6 separate regions of the Homo sapiens genome follow, and all the other regions are linked to region 2. Evidence: promoter capture Hi-C in 16 types of primary human blood cells and fetal thymus (Javierre and others, 2016). All regions are on one chromosome and are shown on one strand. Each heading gives the region's core, a stretch centred on a gene start or on the middle of the fragment in contact. The rest is flanking DNA. Distances are from core to core; before and after follow the strand shown.

What was found. The method cuts DNA at HindIII sites, captures the fragments that hold promoters and counts their contacts. A CHiCAGO score of 5 or more calls a contact.
Region 1: a contact is called between a fragment that was not itself captured here and the fragment with the promoter of CHRM5 in region 2, in 3 of 17 cell types (megakaryocytes, erythroblasts and M0 macrophages). The highest score is 8.8, in megakaryocytes.
Region 3: a contact is called between a fragment that was not itself captured here and the fragment with the promoter of CHRM5 in region 2, in 1 of 17 cell types (erythroblasts). The highest score is 5.7, in erythroblasts.
Region 4: a fragment that was not itself captured here is called in contact with the fragment with the promoter of CHRM5 in region 2 in 3 of 17 cell types (M2 macrophages, megakaryocytes and erythroblasts); the score reaches 8.6 in M2 macrophages.
Region 5: a contact is called between a fragment that was not itself captured here and the fragment with the promoter of CHRM5 in region 2, in 6 of 17 cell types (erythroblasts, endothelial precursors, megakaryocytes and 3 more). The highest score is 10.1, in erythroblasts.
Region 6: a contact is called between a fragment that was not itself captured here and the fragment with the promoter of CHRM5 in region 2, in 4 of 17 cell types (megakaryocytes, erythroblasts, M0 macrophages and 1 more). The highest score is 9.7, in megakaryocytes.

Annotation. Positions count from the first base shown.
Region 1 is chr15:33,236,931-33,239,630 of GRCh38, forward strand. It overlaps the pseudogene TMCO5B. Among named protein-coding and RNA genes, the nearest start is that of FMN1, 44 kb to the left of the region's middle. RefSeq lists a silencer at 1,295-1,464. The HindIII fragment of the contact is 6,436 bases long and covers 1-2,700 here.
Region 2 is chr15:33,967,180-33,969,897 of GRCh38, forward strand. It overlaps CHRM5 (cholinergic receptor muscarinic 5), which reads left to right and starts at 1,318. Exons shown (of 3, transcript NM_012125.4): 1 at 1,318-1,971. All of the region lies in intron 2 of AVEN (apoptosis and caspase activation inhibitor), which reads right to left. The HindIII fragment of the contact is 969 bases long and covers 946-1,914 here.
Region 3 is chr15:33,256,519-33,259,218 of GRCh38, forward strand. No RefSeq gene overlaps it. Among named protein-coding and RNA genes, the nearest start is that of RYR3-DT, 53 kb to the right of the region's middle. The HindIII fragment of the contact is 7,151 bases long and covers 1-2,700 here.
Region 4 is chr15:33,218,898-33,221,597 of GRCh38, forward strand. No RefSeq gene overlaps it. Among named protein-coding and RNA genes, the nearest start is that of FMN1, 26 kb to the left of the region's middle. The HindIII fragment of the contact is 4,772 bases long and covers 1-2,700 here.
Region 5 is chr15:33,281,661-33,284,360 of GRCh38, forward strand. No RefSeq gene overlaps it. Among named protein-coding and RNA genes, the nearest start is that of RYR3-DT, 28 kb to the right of the region's middle. The HindIII fragment of the contact is 2,230 bases long and covers 212-2,441 here.
Region 6 is chr15:33,298,638-33,301,479 of GRCh38, forward strand. No RefSeq gene overlaps it. Among named protein-coding and RNA genes, the nearest start is that of RYR3-DT, 11 kb to the right of the region's middle. The HindIII fragment of the contact is 953 bases long and covers 994-1,946 here.

The sequences.
Region 1 (2,700 bases), core at 129-2,628, 730 kb before region 2:
TTTGGGTGGTGTCTGCCAAAATTGATCCCGGTTTCACTGTTTGAGAGGAGTCATCCTGGGCTTTGGATCTAGGTAAGAGATCAGAGCCAAGAATTAGGTAACATAATCTGAGAGGCTGATGAAAGGTGCTTTCCTAAGTTACGCGGTATCTACGATTCATATCCTAGACTCTTACTAACATTCACAATGCTCAACATTTAAAATCCATAATTGCTAAACTTATAAAGAACCAGGAAAATGTGATTCATTTTTAAAAGAAGACAATCAATGAAAACTAAGCTGGATATAACCCTGATGTTGGATTCAAACTGCAGTTTGTGTCTTGGTGGCAGCTCAAGTTTCAGTTGTGGTCTTATGTCCTCAGCTGGGCTGCTCACACATTGCCCTGAGCATGCATGGTTTGGAAGTCCAGTCAGAGATTCAGGTATAGTTTAGACACAGATTTAGGAACTCCCCATGTCTGACTCTCTACTTTTTCCCCAGTATCTTTGGCTGCCTCAAACTCTTTATTCTCTATTTTGTTAGTCCAAAAAGACTATAGGTTTTCTCTGCTGGTGCATCTTACACACCCAGTTTGGTCTTTCTTCAGGCTAGAAACTATAAAAATAGGGGAAATAATGCCCATCATTCTCTTTTTCCAAGTGCCAGATCCCTTCCAGAATCTGCTTGCTTTTATTCACTCGCCAATACCTTCTGTTCATTGTTTGTTCATTTGTTTTATTTTGTTTTGTTATCCTAAGTTTCATTTTATGCAATAGGATTGAGTCCATTAATGGAAATGCCTGTAAATAATACCAGCAAATAATGCCTGCAAATGCTTGCAAATAATTCAATAAAGCAAGAAAAAGAAATAAAAAGATAAAGACTGAAAAGGAAAAAGTACAATTGTTATTATTTATAGTTGAGAAGCTAAAAGAAATTTTTAGAATAGGTGAATTTAGTGAGATTAATGATACAAGTTCAATATATAGAAACCAATTGTATTTCTATGCACTAACAGTAATCAATTAAAAAATCAAGGCTGGCATGTTGGCTCACACCTGCAATCCTAGCACTTTGGGAGGCCAAGGTGGGAGGATCGCTTAAGCCCAGGAGTTTGAGACCAGCCTGGGCAACATAGTGGGACCCTGTCTCTATTTTATTTTATTATTTTATTTTTATTTTTTGAGATGGAGTTTCGCTCTGTCACCCAGGCTGGAGTACAGTGGCATAACCTCCTCCTCCCGGGTTCAAGCAATTCTCCTGCCTCAGCCTCCCAAGTAGCTGGGACTACAGGCATGTGCCACCACACCTGGCTTTTTTATTTTTTTTATTTTTTTATTTTTAGTAGAGACAGAGTTTCACCATGTTAGTCAGGCTGGTCTCGAACTCCTGACCTCAGGTAATCCACCTGCCTCAGCTTCCCAAAGTGCTGGGATTCCAGGCATGAGCCACCACACCTGGCCACCGTCTCTATTTTATTTTTAATATTAATAAAAAAAGAAAATCAAATTAACACAGCATTCACAGTTGCATTAAAAATATTAAATACCTAGGAATAAATCTGATGGAAAGTGTATAAGAACACCACACAGAAAACTGTAAAACGTTATTTTGAGAAATTAAATATCTAAATAAACGAAGGGATAAAGATATCATGGTGTGTGAAACTATTGTTTATTTTTATTATTCTTTTTGAGATAGCATCTCACTCGGTGGTCCAGGCTGGAATACAGTGGTGCAATATATCTCACTTTTACCTCAACCTCCTGGGCTCAAACCATCCTCCTGCCTCAGCCTCCTGAGTAGCTAGGACTATAGGCACACACAACCATGCCCAGATAATTTGTTTTATTTTTTGTAGAGATAGAGTCTTGCTATGTTGCCCAGGCTAGTCTCGATCTCCTGGCCTCAATAGAACCTCCCCCGCCCCACAGTCTCCCAAAACACTGACATTACAGGCATGAGCCACAGCACCTGGCCATGGAAAATTATTGTTTAGATACTAATTATCCTCTCACTTTATCTATAGATTCCATGTAACTCCAATCAACATCTCAGCAAGGTTTTTTGTTTTTGTTTTGGTAGAAGTTGAAAAACCGATTTTAAAATTTATATAGAAATTCAAGGGGCCAAGAAAGCCAAGATAATCGTGCAGAATTTAAGCTACCATATCAATACTAATTATAAAGCTATAATAATTAGTGTAGTTTTGGCACAAGGATAGGAACAGAGACTAATTGTACAGAATAAAGCATCCAGAAACACTCACACATATATGGTCACCAGACATAAAATAAGACACCACTGCAAATGAATAGTATCTTCAATAAATTGTGCTGGATCAATTGGATATCCATATGGAAAAAAAACCCCACAAATTTTAATCTCTACCTCACACCACAGAAAAGAAAATAAATTCCAAAAGAATGTAAACCTGAGTAAAAGGTAAATGATAAAAAATTCTAGGGGAAACCACAGAGAGTAGTTTTATGACCTCTAAAAGGCAGAAAGCAAAAAAGAATGGATTGACACATTTCACAGATTAGATTTTTTTCTAAATTAATAACTATTGTTTATCCAAAATGTCATTAAGAAAGTAAAAAAGGAAAGCCTCAGAATAGACTATAATACACACATTTGACAAAGGATCTTATGAAAAAAATAAGGAACTCCTACAAATCAATTAGAAAAAGACTAACCATCTCACAGATGCAGGCG
Region 2 (2,718 bases), core at 68-2,567:
AAAGACCACTATAAAACTAAAATTCACTTCTTTCTCATACATGTTCATCTGTCAGTGTTTAAAATTCTATTGGCTAACAATTAAAGTGTATACTTTGTCTGGATTCTCACTCAGAAAAAACCTACATAAAGACATAGTTTCTGAGACACAAGGAATTTAAAATGAACTGGATATTATATGACTCCAGAGGATTATAGCCAATGTGTTAGGTGTGATAATGGCACAGGGTCATGTGAAAAAGTGTCCATACTTTAAAAATATACATACTAAAGTACAAATAGGTGAAATGAGATTTGCTTTAAAATATTTTAGCAAAGAATTGAATCTGACAATTGTTGAATCTTGGTAATGAGTTTCTGGAGGTTCATGTATTATTTTTGTATTATTTTTCAGAGTTTTGTGTAAGTTTGAAATGTTCCATAATAATTTTTTAAAATTTAAAAACATTATATTGTCTAGATACACTCATAAAGAACTCAGGCAGGGAAAAAACGTTTAAATTTAAAATTTAAATTTTAAACTGAAGTGCAGTTTTAAAAATTTGAATTTTAAATTTAAAAACTGAAGTGCAAAAATTATGAAATTGACATTTAAAAATCTATTCTTTTATACAGCTAATATGGATTTCATCTAACTTAAGGAAAAGCTTTAATGAAGACCCTGTTAAAAGTTTGTATCAAATGAGGACTTATAATGCTTTACTCCAAAGCAACAAAACGCATATGCCCAAAAGATGTATAAAAACAGGCATACATTTAGGAAAAAAAAAAAAGGCAGCCTTTTCTCTGCTACAAATATTTAAAACTCACAGTATACTCTTTCTATCTCAAAGACTTTTAAAAATTATTTTCCATCTTTAGGGAAAACCATATGAGAAAATAACTCAGCAACATGTCTGTGAATAATGCCTAGCAAAGCTTAAAAAAAAAAAAAAAAAAAAAAAAAAGCTTCTAGCCAAAAAGACTAACAGGAAAAAATGAACATTTTCAAAAGCATTTTGGAACCTTATTCCAGCTACCTCCATGCTAAGCCCTCTTTTTCCTCCCAAAATACGTCACTTAACTGTCTGTCAAATAACTCTTGCCCATTCTACCTGATCACACTCTGAAGCTGCAGCTTTTCCTGGATTCTCTTCTCAATGACAAGCTGTTCAAACAGAGAACACCTATCAAAACGAATATCATCATCTGCTCCTTTCTTTCTTCCTTTCAGGATATACTGCTGTCCAGCAGGGGAAGTAATTAATGAGTTTTTTATGTATGGCAGCGTCATCCCATCAGTTTGCTGTCTGGTTTGAATAGCTCCTATCAGCTCTTCATTCATGCCAAGTACGCTCACCGTCCAGAGACATGATAAAGCCGTACTTCCTTCTGGATTTTTACCTCACTATTCAAAAAACAGGGTACCAGAAGCATGGGTTACAAAAGCATGAGGAGGACAGAAGAAATGCCTTCATCTTCTACAGAAAGGAAGCTGATGGACTGAAAAGTTCGTATGGAGAAAGGAAAGCAAGAGTGCAAGAACATCCATGCTTCTAGTCCAGATAATGTTTTTTAAAGCAGCTTGATTTGGAAGCGTGTGTAATTCTGAAATACGAACAAGCAGAACTTTTCCAGGGGGTCAAATGCATATAGGAACAACCAGGATTTCTCATTGCTGAAGCATTCAATGAATCTTTAATAAGTTCTCAACACTCAGATTGTTTGTGATCAGATCAACTGCTGTTACCAGATAAAGGCAAAACTCACCCTTCTGGTTCTATAATCCTATCCAAATGGAGTCTTCATCTACCGCATACTATCCTAACTAATGCTACAGGATTATCAGGAATACAGATATAAAGACACTGCAAGAAATAAAACACTGGCAAAATAAAACATGAAAGGAAAGTAGAGAAGGCATTTTGGGTCTCGAAGCTTACTATTTCCAGCCAGAGTTCAAATTACTGAGCTTCAAACAAACCACTGCCAGGTAAGATTTAATTTTATAACCTTAATTTATATCTTGTCTACTGAAATTAAATCTGCTCGTGCTGTGAATGAGATAGTGGATTTGAATTTCTTGCAACCCTTCCTTAAGCTTTTGCAGATTTAAGCTGAGGTAAACGCTTGTTTTTACTTATGCTGCATAAACAAGTCACTCAGAACTAGATAATAAAGCATCCAAAACTCCCATTCATTTTTCATTGAATTTGTCTCATCTTTGTCTTTATTTTTATCCCAATTTTGTTTTATTTAATAGCTTGAAAAAAATGCATGAAGAGAGCCCTGAATGGTGCATAAGAGCCATTCACAGATAATGTTTACCAACAATATTCAAATGAACTTAGTTTCCCAGAGTACTTGATAAAACAAAGAAAAATTAATAAGCATTTTAAATATTTTTATTCATATAAAGGAACAAAAGCTCAATGACTGATTTCTATTGTTACTAAGAAAAAAAAGCTGTGATGTCATTTCATTCATACTAAAGAAAAATAATCTCTACTAAATCGAGGTATAACACTCTTGTAGGATAGGGCTAATTTATCCTAAAGATACTAGACATTTTTATAACAGACTAAATGAAGACATTTTTCTGATTCAACAAGAGGATAAAAAGATGAAAGATGTCTGGTACCTTAAAACCTCAAAAGCTTTGACTCAGGTCAGTGGTCCAAACTGTAAAATGCAAAGCACTAGTGAAGCCATCAAAGGATTTTAAAAGATACAGTGCCTT
Region 3 (2,700 bases), core at 106-2,605, 710 kb before region 2:
GACATCAATCTCTCTATACAAAGTACCCTGAAAATACTCTTGCACTTATACCCCAGAAGAGAGTGTACAATAATTTTTGCTCTGCATTGTTAGTAATAGCAAAACACGGGAAGCAACCCAAATGTCCATAAACAGTAGAATGGAGAAATAACAGACACACAATAGAAGAAATAATTTATAATCGTAGTCAATAACATACAGGAATCTCTCAATCATAATGTTGATCAAAAGAGGTAGATCACAGAAGAATGTACATATTCTAATTCAAGACATACAAAGTACAAAATAGAGTAAACAAAATGTTTTAGTGCAGTGGTCCCCAACCTTTTTGGCACCAGGGACCGGTTTCATGGAAGACAATTTTTCCACGGGGTGCAAGGGTGGGGGAATGGTTTCAGGAGGAAACTGCTCTACCTCAGATCATCATGCATTAGATTCTAATAAGGAGGGTGCAACCTAGATCCCTCGCATGCGCAGTTCACAGTAGGGTTTGCACTCTTATGAGAATCTAATGCCACCGCTGATCTGACAGGAGCCGGAGCTCAAGCGGTAAAGCTCGCTTAAGCGGTAAAGCTCGCTCCAGCCGCTCACCTCCTGCTGTGCAGCCTGGTTCCTAACAGGCTATGGACCTGCACTGGTCTGCAGCCAGGGGCTAGGAACCCTTGTTTTAGGGTAGTTTTGTAGGTGATAAACTTACAAAAAAAAAGAAAGGGCATAATTATCACAAAATTCATAATGGTTAGCATTCTGGAGAAGAGAGGGCTTTGTAGATTCTGTGAGTGGCACAAAATGTGGCCCTTTTGCTTCCAGTGTCCAGATACAAGGAGGCCTGGTTCTCTTGGAACTCATGCTTTGAGGGTGCCCAAGTAGCTCATGGAAAGGAATCAAGACTTGGGTCTGAAAAAGCATTCTGGCAATAGCCAGTACCAACTTCCCAGCTATGTGAGTGAGAAATCTTGAAGGTAGGTCCTCCAGTCTAAGAGCTCCAGCTAATACTTTATAAGCAAAATAGTAGTTGTTCCCACAAAGCCATCCCAAATTGTAGGTTTGTGGGGAGAAAAAGTTTGTACTTGGTTTAAGCCTCTAAGTTTTGCGTGTGGTTTGTTGTTATATAGCTTGCAGATAAGCAGCAGGCTGCCTAACCCTTAAGTGTCACATGCGGAAGAGGCAAGGAACCAGGAGCAAAGTGTTCAAAATTCTTTCAGATTTTTTTTTCTTTTAAAAAGAGTTCCCAGGCTGGGCGTGGTGGCTCACGCCTGTAATCCCAGCACTTTGGGAGGCCAAGGTGGGCGGATCACAAAGTCAGGAGATCGAGACCATCCTGGCTAACATGGTGAAACGCCGTCTCTACTAAAAATACAAAAATTAGCCAGGCATGGTGGCGGGCGTCTGTAGTCCCAGCTGCTGGGGAGGCTGAGGCACGAGAATGGCATGAACCCGGGAGGCGGAGCTTGCAGTGAGCCGAGATGGCGCCACTGCACTCCAGCCTGGACGACAGAGCGAGACTCCGTCTCAAAAAAAAAAAAAAGAGTTTCCAGTTTGAAGTTACTACAACTGTACAGTGAAGGAACCTGACCAGAATAAGTTAGACAGGACTCTTTACATCTCCTGGACCTCATAAGCAAGAAACAGCAGCCATGCCTAAAAGGTCCTATCTTAAAAAGCCTGACTGTCATCCCAGGCCCAAAGCACTGGCTAGAGAGCTTTGCTGGACGAGTCCTTCAACCTCCTGCCCTCCATGCTAGTCCTTCACACTGAAGATGACATCTCGTCTTGGTCTTGCTTCTCTCACTTGTAGTGACAGTCTTCCAGCCCTGCTGTGCTCTCAACCTGAGTGCCTAACTCTAGCTAGTTGAAACTGGGGCTTGAAAATGTGAAACATTCAGCAGGAACTTCTCTGATACAGACCTAAAATCAACAAAAGCAGTCACAGCCATCATGCCCAAGATCAATCCAACTCCACAAAAGTCAGTACACAAAAAACCTAAGTCCAGAAACTGTCCCAGGAAAATAAAAGCTACCATATGAGAAATTTCCCAAATGTAGGTTAGGGTTTTCTCCCATAGGTCCACAGAGGCCCCCTGACAGCCATAGAAAGAGCTGTCAATCTTTTCTAAAATTTATTAGCAACTCTTTCATTTTCTCAGGTACACCTCGGGAATAATTTGAAGAGTTAATTGAAACTGATATGTTGTAATTAGGGACTTATGGTTTCCCTAGAGTTTAGGGCCAATAGCTACAGAATCTTATTAGAGAATTTAATTAATGTATTTCCTCTACATTTCTACTGACTAGGAGGGAAACCAGAACAGTGATGAAAGACTTTTCATAAAAATAAAAGAAGTTAGGTAAATTACCATTTCTAAGCCTCAGTATAAAAGAAAAATACTCTTTTAATGCAATCTTGTTAACCTAAATAGGTTAAAATGCTTCTCTATGCTTTTTTTTTTTTTAAAATTGCCATTTCTATTTTAAGATAAATTAAGACTCAAAAGGATATTCCAGCTTTTGGTGAAATTAGTTTGTCAAGGATTTGGAAAAAATATAATCTTGATTATAAGGGGCAAATGGAATGAAGACTATCTTAGCTAAGAGACAACTTGAGAAAAAACTACATTAGTGTGAGATTACTCAAAGAGGGCATAATATTTCACAAAGTTCTCTTCATTCTGTAATAATAAACATTAAAGTTAATGTGCC
Region 4 (2,700 bases), core at 64-2,563, 750 kb before region 2:
CCCAGCTACTCAGGAGGCTGAGGCAGGAGAATGTCATGAACCCAAGAGGCAGAGCTTGCAGTGAGCCAAGATCGTGCCACTGCACTCCAGCCTGGGTGACAGAGCAAGACTCCATCTCAAAAAAAAAAAAAAAAAAAAAAACAGACAAAGAAGGCCATCTTATAATGATAAATGGTTCAATTCAACAATAAATTTAACTATCCTAAATATGAATGCACCCGGCTGGGTGCAGTGACTCATGCCTGTAATCCCAGCACTTTTAGAGGCCAAGGCAGGTAGATCACTTGAGGTCAGGAGTTCAAGACCAGCCTGGCCAACATGGTGAAACCTCATCTCTACTAAAAATACAAAAATTAGTTGGGCGTGATTGTGTGCACCTGTAGTCCCATCTACTTGGGAGGCCTGAGGCAGGAGAATTGCTTGAACCTGGGAGGCGGAGGTTGCAGTTAGCTGAGATCACCCCACTGTACTCCAGCCTGGGCTACAGAGCGAGACTCTGTCTCAAAAAAAAAAAAAAAAAAATTGCACCCAACATCAGAGCAGTCAAATTTATAAAACAAATACTACTAGACCTAAGAAAGGGGATAGACGGTCATGCAATAGTAGTGGAGGACTGTAACACACCACTGACAGCAGTAGACAGATCATTGAGGCAAAAAACTAACAAAGAAATTCTGGACTTAAATTGGGCTCCTGACCAAATGGACTTAATAGACATCTACAGAATACTACACTCAATAACCACAGAATGCACATTTTTCTCATTTGCACGTGGAACATTCTCTAAAATTGACCACATGCTGAGTCATAAAGCAAATCTCAATAAATTAAAAACAACCAAAATCATGTCAAGCATCTTCTCAGACCACAGTGGTATAAAATTGGAAATCAATAAGAGGAACTCTCGGCTGGGTGTGGTGGCTCACACCTGTAATCCCAGCACTTTGGGAGGCCGAGGCAGGCGGATCACCTGAGGTCGGGAGTTTGAAACCAGTCTGACCAAGCTGGAGAAATCCGTCTCTATGAAAAATCCAAACATTAGCCAGGCATGGTGGTGCATGCCTGTAATCCCAGCTACCTGGAAGGCTGAGACAGGAGAATCACTGGAACCCGGGAGGCGGAGATTGTGGTGAGCTGAGATCGCGCCATTGCACTCCAGCCTGGGCAACAAGAGCGAAACTCCGTCTGAAAAACAAACAAACAAAAAAAGGAACTCTCAGACCACTCAAGTACATGGAAACTAAACAACTTGCTTCTGAATAACTTTTGGGTAAACAAAAAAATTAAGGCAGAAATTTTATACAGAAATTAATTCAAGATGGATTAAAGACTTAAATGTCAGACCTAAAACCATAAAAACCCCAGAAGAAAACCTAGGCAATACCATTCAGGACATAGGCATGGGCAAGGACTTCATGGCTAAAACACCAAAAGCAATGGCAACAAAAGCCAAAATAGACAAATGGGATCTAGTTAAGCTAAAGAGCTTCTGCACAGCAAAAGAAACTACCATCAGAGTGAACAGGCAACCTACAGAATGGGAGAAAATTTTTGCAATCTACCCATCTGACAAAGGGCTAATATCCAGAATCTACAAAGAACTTAAACAAATTTACAAGAAAAAATCAAACTACCCCATCAAAAAGTGGGCAAAGGAGATGAACAGACACTTCTCAAAAGAAGACATTTATGCAGCCAACAGACACATGAAAAAATGCTCATCATCACTGGCCATCAGAGAAATGCAAATCAAAACCACAATGAGATACCATCTCATGCCAGTTAGAATGGCGATCATTAAAAAGTCAGGAAACAACAGGTGCTGGAGAGGATGTGAAGAAATAGGAACACTTTTACACTGTTGGAGGGACCGTAAACTACTTCAACCATTGTGGAAGACAGTGTGGCGATTCCTCAAGGATCTAGAACTAGAAATACCATTTGACCCAGCCATCCCATTACTGGGTATATACCCAAAGGATTATAAATCATGCTGCTATAAAGACACATGCACATATATGTTTATTGTGGCACTATTCACGATAGCAAAGACTTGGAACCAACCCAAATGTCCATCAATGATAGACTGGATTAAGCAAATGTGGCACATACACACCATGGAATACTATGCAGCCATAAAAAAGGATGAGTTCATGTCCTTTGTAGGGACATGGATGAAGCTGGAAACCATTCTGAGCAAACTGTCACAAGGACAGAAAACCAAACACCGCATGCTCTCACTCATAGGTGGGAATTGAATAATGAGAACACGTGGACACAGGAAGGGGAACATCACACACCAGGGCCTGTTGTGGGGTGGGGGTAGGGGGTAGGGATAGCATTAGGAGATATACCTAATGTAAATGATGAGTTAATGGGTGTAGCACACCAACATAGCACATGTATACATATGTAACAAACCTACACATTGTACACATGTACCCTAGAACTTAATGTATAATAATAATTTAAAAAAAAGAAAAAAGTTTGAAGTAAGTGAAAAGAGAGACACAACATACCTCTGGGATTCTCTGGGATACAGTGAAAGCAGTGTTAAGAGGAAAGTTTATGGTGCTAAATCCCTACATCAAAAAGATATAAATGTCCAAATTAACAACCTAATGCCACACCTAAAAGAACTAGAAAAACAAGAATAAACCAAACCCAAAGGTAGCAGAAGAAATGAAAAAACAAAGATCA
Region 5 (2,700 bases), core at 77-2,576, 690 kb before region 2:
TTTTGTATTTTTTTTTTTGTTAGAGGTGGGGTTTCACCATGTTGGCCAGGCTGGTCTTGAATGCCAGACCTCAAATGATCTGCCTGCCTTGGCCTCCCAAAGTGCTGGGATTGCAGTCGTGAGCCACCATGCCTGGCCTCCCTTTTTTATTTTTTAAGTGAAAAAAGAAACATCTCTCAGTGTAAGAGCTAATCTTTCACCTAGCTTTGGAAGCTTATTGTGCCAAAAAGTTATCTGCCTCCTTATCTGGATTGACAGTACCGAGTTGTCTCCTATGAGCTGCAGTTGCCCTTGCTCAATCTAGTTGTAGGTTTCAATTTTCCCTTACCAGCTTGACTGAAGCTGGCTGATGATAGAAGATTAGAGACCCTCTTACTCACCTCTCTTGCTTGCAGGTGAGAAAACAGCGACCCAGGCAGATTCTATGACTTGTAGTCTGCCAAATAATTAGTGAAAAAACCAGACTAGAACCCAGATCTGTAGGCTCCTAGTTCCCAGTCTAACAGACAGTTATACCAGATACTTCTCATCTCAAATTTTCTGACCTTTTATATGAAATTGGAGCCACTGACCTGTCATTAACAATGGTTATAAGCTCAGTGGTTGTATAGAGCAATGGTTCATTTTGATTGCTCAAAAAATGTCTTTTGATCACAGTCTGAAAGAGAATTCCTCTTCACAAGGCTTTCTTTGAAGGAGCATTTTTTTTAATCCCTCTAGGGTTGTAAATTCTGTGGGCCCACAGGCCCCTTTCTGCCCAGTCTCACCCTGTTGCCTCTAGCACTAGATGGGAAGCACAAGTATATGTGAAGAGTCCTCCTGTGACCAGTGACATGAGTGAGAAGGACGCCTTTGTTAAGCCTGCAGTGAAATCTGTGGCCTTGGAATAGAATAGAGCTGCACACTGGAATTTGGACAAAAACTTGAATTTCACCCTCAAAAGCTACCAACCCTCTGGCCTAGTGTAGCTCAGTGTTCCTTCTGTTAGAGTATTTTCTTCTTGCTGCCACAGTTGTAATGCAGATTCCCTCATGTGGAAAGCTACCTGGATGGGAACATTATCCACTTAACGAATGTATACTGGGAGTTGGCTAGTTACCAGGAACGAAGGGACCAATGATGCATTCAACTGACGTGCTACCTGCCTTTGGGGAGTTAGAGGGCAGTGAGGGTGCCCACCCCTGGACAGGTGAGTGTAGCAGGCCATGTGGTAGGCAGCAGAGAGAGGAAGAGGGCACTGTGGCAGTACTAGGGGATACATAACTCCAGCTAGGAGGGGGAAGTCGTTGGGGAGAGCTTCCCAGAGGATGTGAATGGAAGGATGAGAAGCAGTTGGCCCGTGAAGACCACAGGGTTTGGAGGTGTGAGGAGATTTATTACAAAAGAGGGAATGGCACATGGAAAGTCATGGAAGTTGGTAATAACCCAGGGTTTCTTTTCTCTTTCTTTCTTTTTCTTTTCTTTTTTTTTTTTTTGAGATGGAGTTTCACTTTTTTGCCCAGGCTGGAGTGAAGCCGTGCGATTTCGGCTCACTGCAACCTCCACCCCCTGGGTTCAAGTGATTCTCCTAACTCATTCTCCCAAGTAGCTGGGATTATAGGCACCCGCCACCACGCCCGGCTAATTTTTGTATTTTTAGTAGAGACGGGGTTTCACCATGTTGGCCAGGCTGGCCTCAAACTCCTGACCTCAAGTGATCTGCCTGCCTCAACCTCCTAAGGTGCTGGGATTACAGGCGTGACCCACCGCACCCGGCCCAGAGTTTCTTTTACTTAATGAAACCACAGAGTATTGCTTGTTTTTTTACAAATGTTTACAGAGGTACACTGCAGCCTATCCTGATCCCCACAACTGAAACCCAGAAATAAAATATGTAGCATTTGTCACTTCGTGGGCATGCAATTAAGCAGAATTTCATTTCTGATGTTACTAATAGCATTTCTAATAAGCTCAGCTGTACATCGACTTTTAGATATTACTAACTTGAGAGCTTTTTTCCCCATAAGACAATTATATTCAAATTGCTAAATGCTGATTTAAAAAGAAAGTCGCAGCAATTACTGTGATCTATTATACTACAGAGAGGTCCTATTGTATTAGGGATATTTACCACTGGGCTTTTTGTTTTTATTGTGTGCCATTATAATAGACTTTTGTCTCCTCTCTTCCTGTCAGAAAGTCAGCTTTCCCATCTGACTGATATTGGTGTTCCTGACCATAGCACTCCATCTCTTCTCCTCCAATCAGATGTGGGCTTTGCAAACCATATTATCATGTGTGTTAGAAGTGCATATGATATAAAATCACATTGATTTTGAGTGAGGAGCTCTTCTCTGAGTAATACATTTCTGTTCATGGGCATCAACGTTGGGGGCCTTCATGATTTTCACTATTCTCAATCATTTCCCCTTCTTTCTTTTCAGTTGTGTTCTAAAGAGGAAAGCTTTCTGAATAACTGAATTTCATGTAGATGAGGACCTTTATGCTCTGAATACAGAATATAAAATCTCATGTCTATTTCCTGTTTTGCAGGCCTGTAAACATTAGTGGGGATGTAAGCAGCAGGTTATACCCATGATGGGTCATGGTTGTAGGCAAGGTGGCCAGAAACCATATTATTCGCAGAATAAGAGTAGCTTACAAGGGAGGCCTTAGAGGCCAGAAAAGCCAAAGTTCAGTTCCAAAGAAGGCTTTATAAGC
Region 6 (2,842 bases), core at 220-2,719, 670 kb before region 2:
TTGGAAAATATCTTCCACAGATATCTTTTCCCATTTGTTCTTTTTATCACTTTGTGATTTTTACCCAAGGATTTTCAGTGCCTGGTCAGGGAGTTACCTACTAAAAAAAATAGACAGGACGTCTGGCCTCAGAGACTGGCGAGGAATCACTTAAATGGAATGCTGAGCAGAGACTGCACCTGCCCTGTCATTGATCTACTCCAGAATCTTGCAGTGCTTTTGCCTCAAGGGATTCTGACTGGGCTGCAGGGAATGGAGGTGTCAGACCAAACTGAAGGGTCATTATTGGTCATGTCTCTTCCCTTAACTGTACATCAAGGCTAATATTTCACCCTCTCTACTTTTCTTTCTTTCTTTCTTTTTTGAGACGGAGTCTCCCTCTGTCGCCCAGGCAGGAGTGCAGTGGCGCGATCTTGGCTCACTGCAAGCTCCGCCTCCGGGGTTCACGCCATTCTCCTGCCTCAGCATCCCGAGTAGCTGGGACTACAGGCGCCCGCCACCACACCTGGCTAATTTTTTGTATTTTTAGTAGAGACGGGGTTTCACCATGTTAGCCAGGATGGTCTCGATCTCTTGACCTCGTGATCCGCCCGCCTCTGCCTCCCAAAGTGCTGGGACTACAGGCGTGAGCCACCGCGCCCGGCTTACCCTCTCTACTTTCTAAGCTGTCTTTTTAGGAATGAATGAATGAATGAATGAATGCCTCAATGATATCATTAACACATCTGTTATGACGAGAGGAAGCTTCAGGTAATGAGTATATTTGATTTTTTAAAAACCTGCCAAAAGGTAACAGATGGAATGTTAAGTAATAGCTAAATAAGCCTTGCAATTTGGCAGAAATGGGCCTGAACTCAGAGTTCAAGGAATTCTTCTACTTCTAGAGATCCAAGAATGCCATAAATGTACCGTCTGTTGACCAAGGCAGGGAAGCCGTCACTCAAGTGGATTTCAATCTATTCTCATTTGTCCCTTCCCAAACTGCTCTCCATAAGCTTGCAGCAGTTGCTGTGTAGCCTTAGAAGTAGTATCCATAGCTGTGTTGATAATGAGGAAGAATAATCAACCTCTAAATACAAGTGCTTTGGATCAATCTGTAGGATCTAATTTGACTATCTCAAATCTAAAGTAATTAAAAGAGTGTTTTTTTCTTCTCTGCTTGAACTGGAGACATTAAAGCATAGTGATTTGGTTTGGCTTTAAAATTAGATAGACTAGGGTTTAAATCCCAGTTTAGCTGAGAACCCTTAGGGAGATTTCTTTTTTGTTTGTTTGTTTTTTGAGACAGAGTCTCGCTCTGTCGCCCAGGCTGGAGTGCAGTGGTGCAACCTCGGCCCACTGCAAGCTCCGCCTCCCGGGTTCACACCATTCTCCTGCCTTAGCCTCCCGAGTAGCTGGGACTACAGGTGCCTGCCACCACGCCCGGCTAATTTTTTGTAGTTTTAGTAGAGATGGGGTTTCACCGTGTTAGCCAGGATGGTCTCGATCTCCTGACCTCGTGATCCGCCCGCCTCAGCCTCCCAAAGTGCTGAGATTACAGGCGTGAGCCACCGCGCCTGGCCGAGAACCCTTAGGGAGATTTCTTAACCCTTACTCTCAGTCTCCTCATCTGTAAAATGGCAGTAAAAATGCCTACTTCACAGGGTTGTTGATAGCTATTATCATGACATGAGAGAGAATATTTAACATGGAAGGGCAGGGCAGGGATAGAGAGAGGATGAAAGCTGGATCTACCTCTGGAAGTGATGATTTTTGAAGAACGGCATTGCCACTCAGTAAAGCACTTTGCCTAGTCCAGCATAACTGAGGGGTTGCATGAAGCAGCAGTCCCGGCCCCAGGCCTTCCACATGACAACCAGCATCTCAATCAGGGGAGCTCTCGGGCCCAATCATTGTATCTTTGCCTCTGTTCTGCGAGCCTAAAAAGAAATCATCCCATAGGGCTAAGCTTAATCTTGTTTACTCATGGGAGCTCCTTCTGACCACCTCAGCCAGTGGTAGTCTCCCTGGACACTCAACTTCTACTCCACTCCCTGGACACTCAACTTGCATTGCTGCTTACTTTACTGTACTATGTTCATATTTTGTCTTTGAAACTAAGCTGCAGTTCCTTGAGAGAGGTAGATTTTTATCTTATTTGAATCACTGCCAGTGATAGTATACTCATTACCTGAAGCTTCCTTTCCTTATAACAGGTGTGTTAAATATACCATTTTTATGTTCTTTGAATCACTCCCAGTATTCACAAATGCTAAGAACTGTGCTCCCCAAATTGGTCTGCGAATCCCTAGGGTTCTGTAGAGCTGAGTCAGGTACCTCACCTACTATGAGATCACTGGGCACCCAGTGCCAAATCCTGGGACCCCCATCCACATCTCTCCCTGCAGCTTCAGCCGGAATAGCCTGTTTTCATAGGTTTTGCCTTTGGTTGTCAGTGGTGATGATGACGATGGCATATTTATTGAACATTGGGTTTCCTCCCATTGTTGGGTATTTGGCAGCCCAATTTCCAACTGCCCAAGGGCTTTCTCTGGCAGCTGGAGCAGGCTGAAGGTGCCAGAGAATTAACACCCTGGGAGCAGCCTTCACCCAGTGACTGACCGGAGTTAGCGTGTAAATACCCCAGCTTCCTTGTTTTTCTGAGGGTGACTCTGAAGTGCATGTTCCTCACTAGTTCCCAGAGTTCCCCAGTGAGACTGGGCTCCTCATGCACAGTGGTAACCTGCTTGATAACTTGCTCCTTACTGGCTTCCTTCCCTTTCCTGTCTCACTTTCTCACTCTTACTGGTACTTTCTGGGATCATCTCCGAAATCAGGGTCTGCTTTTGGAGAAACCAGACAG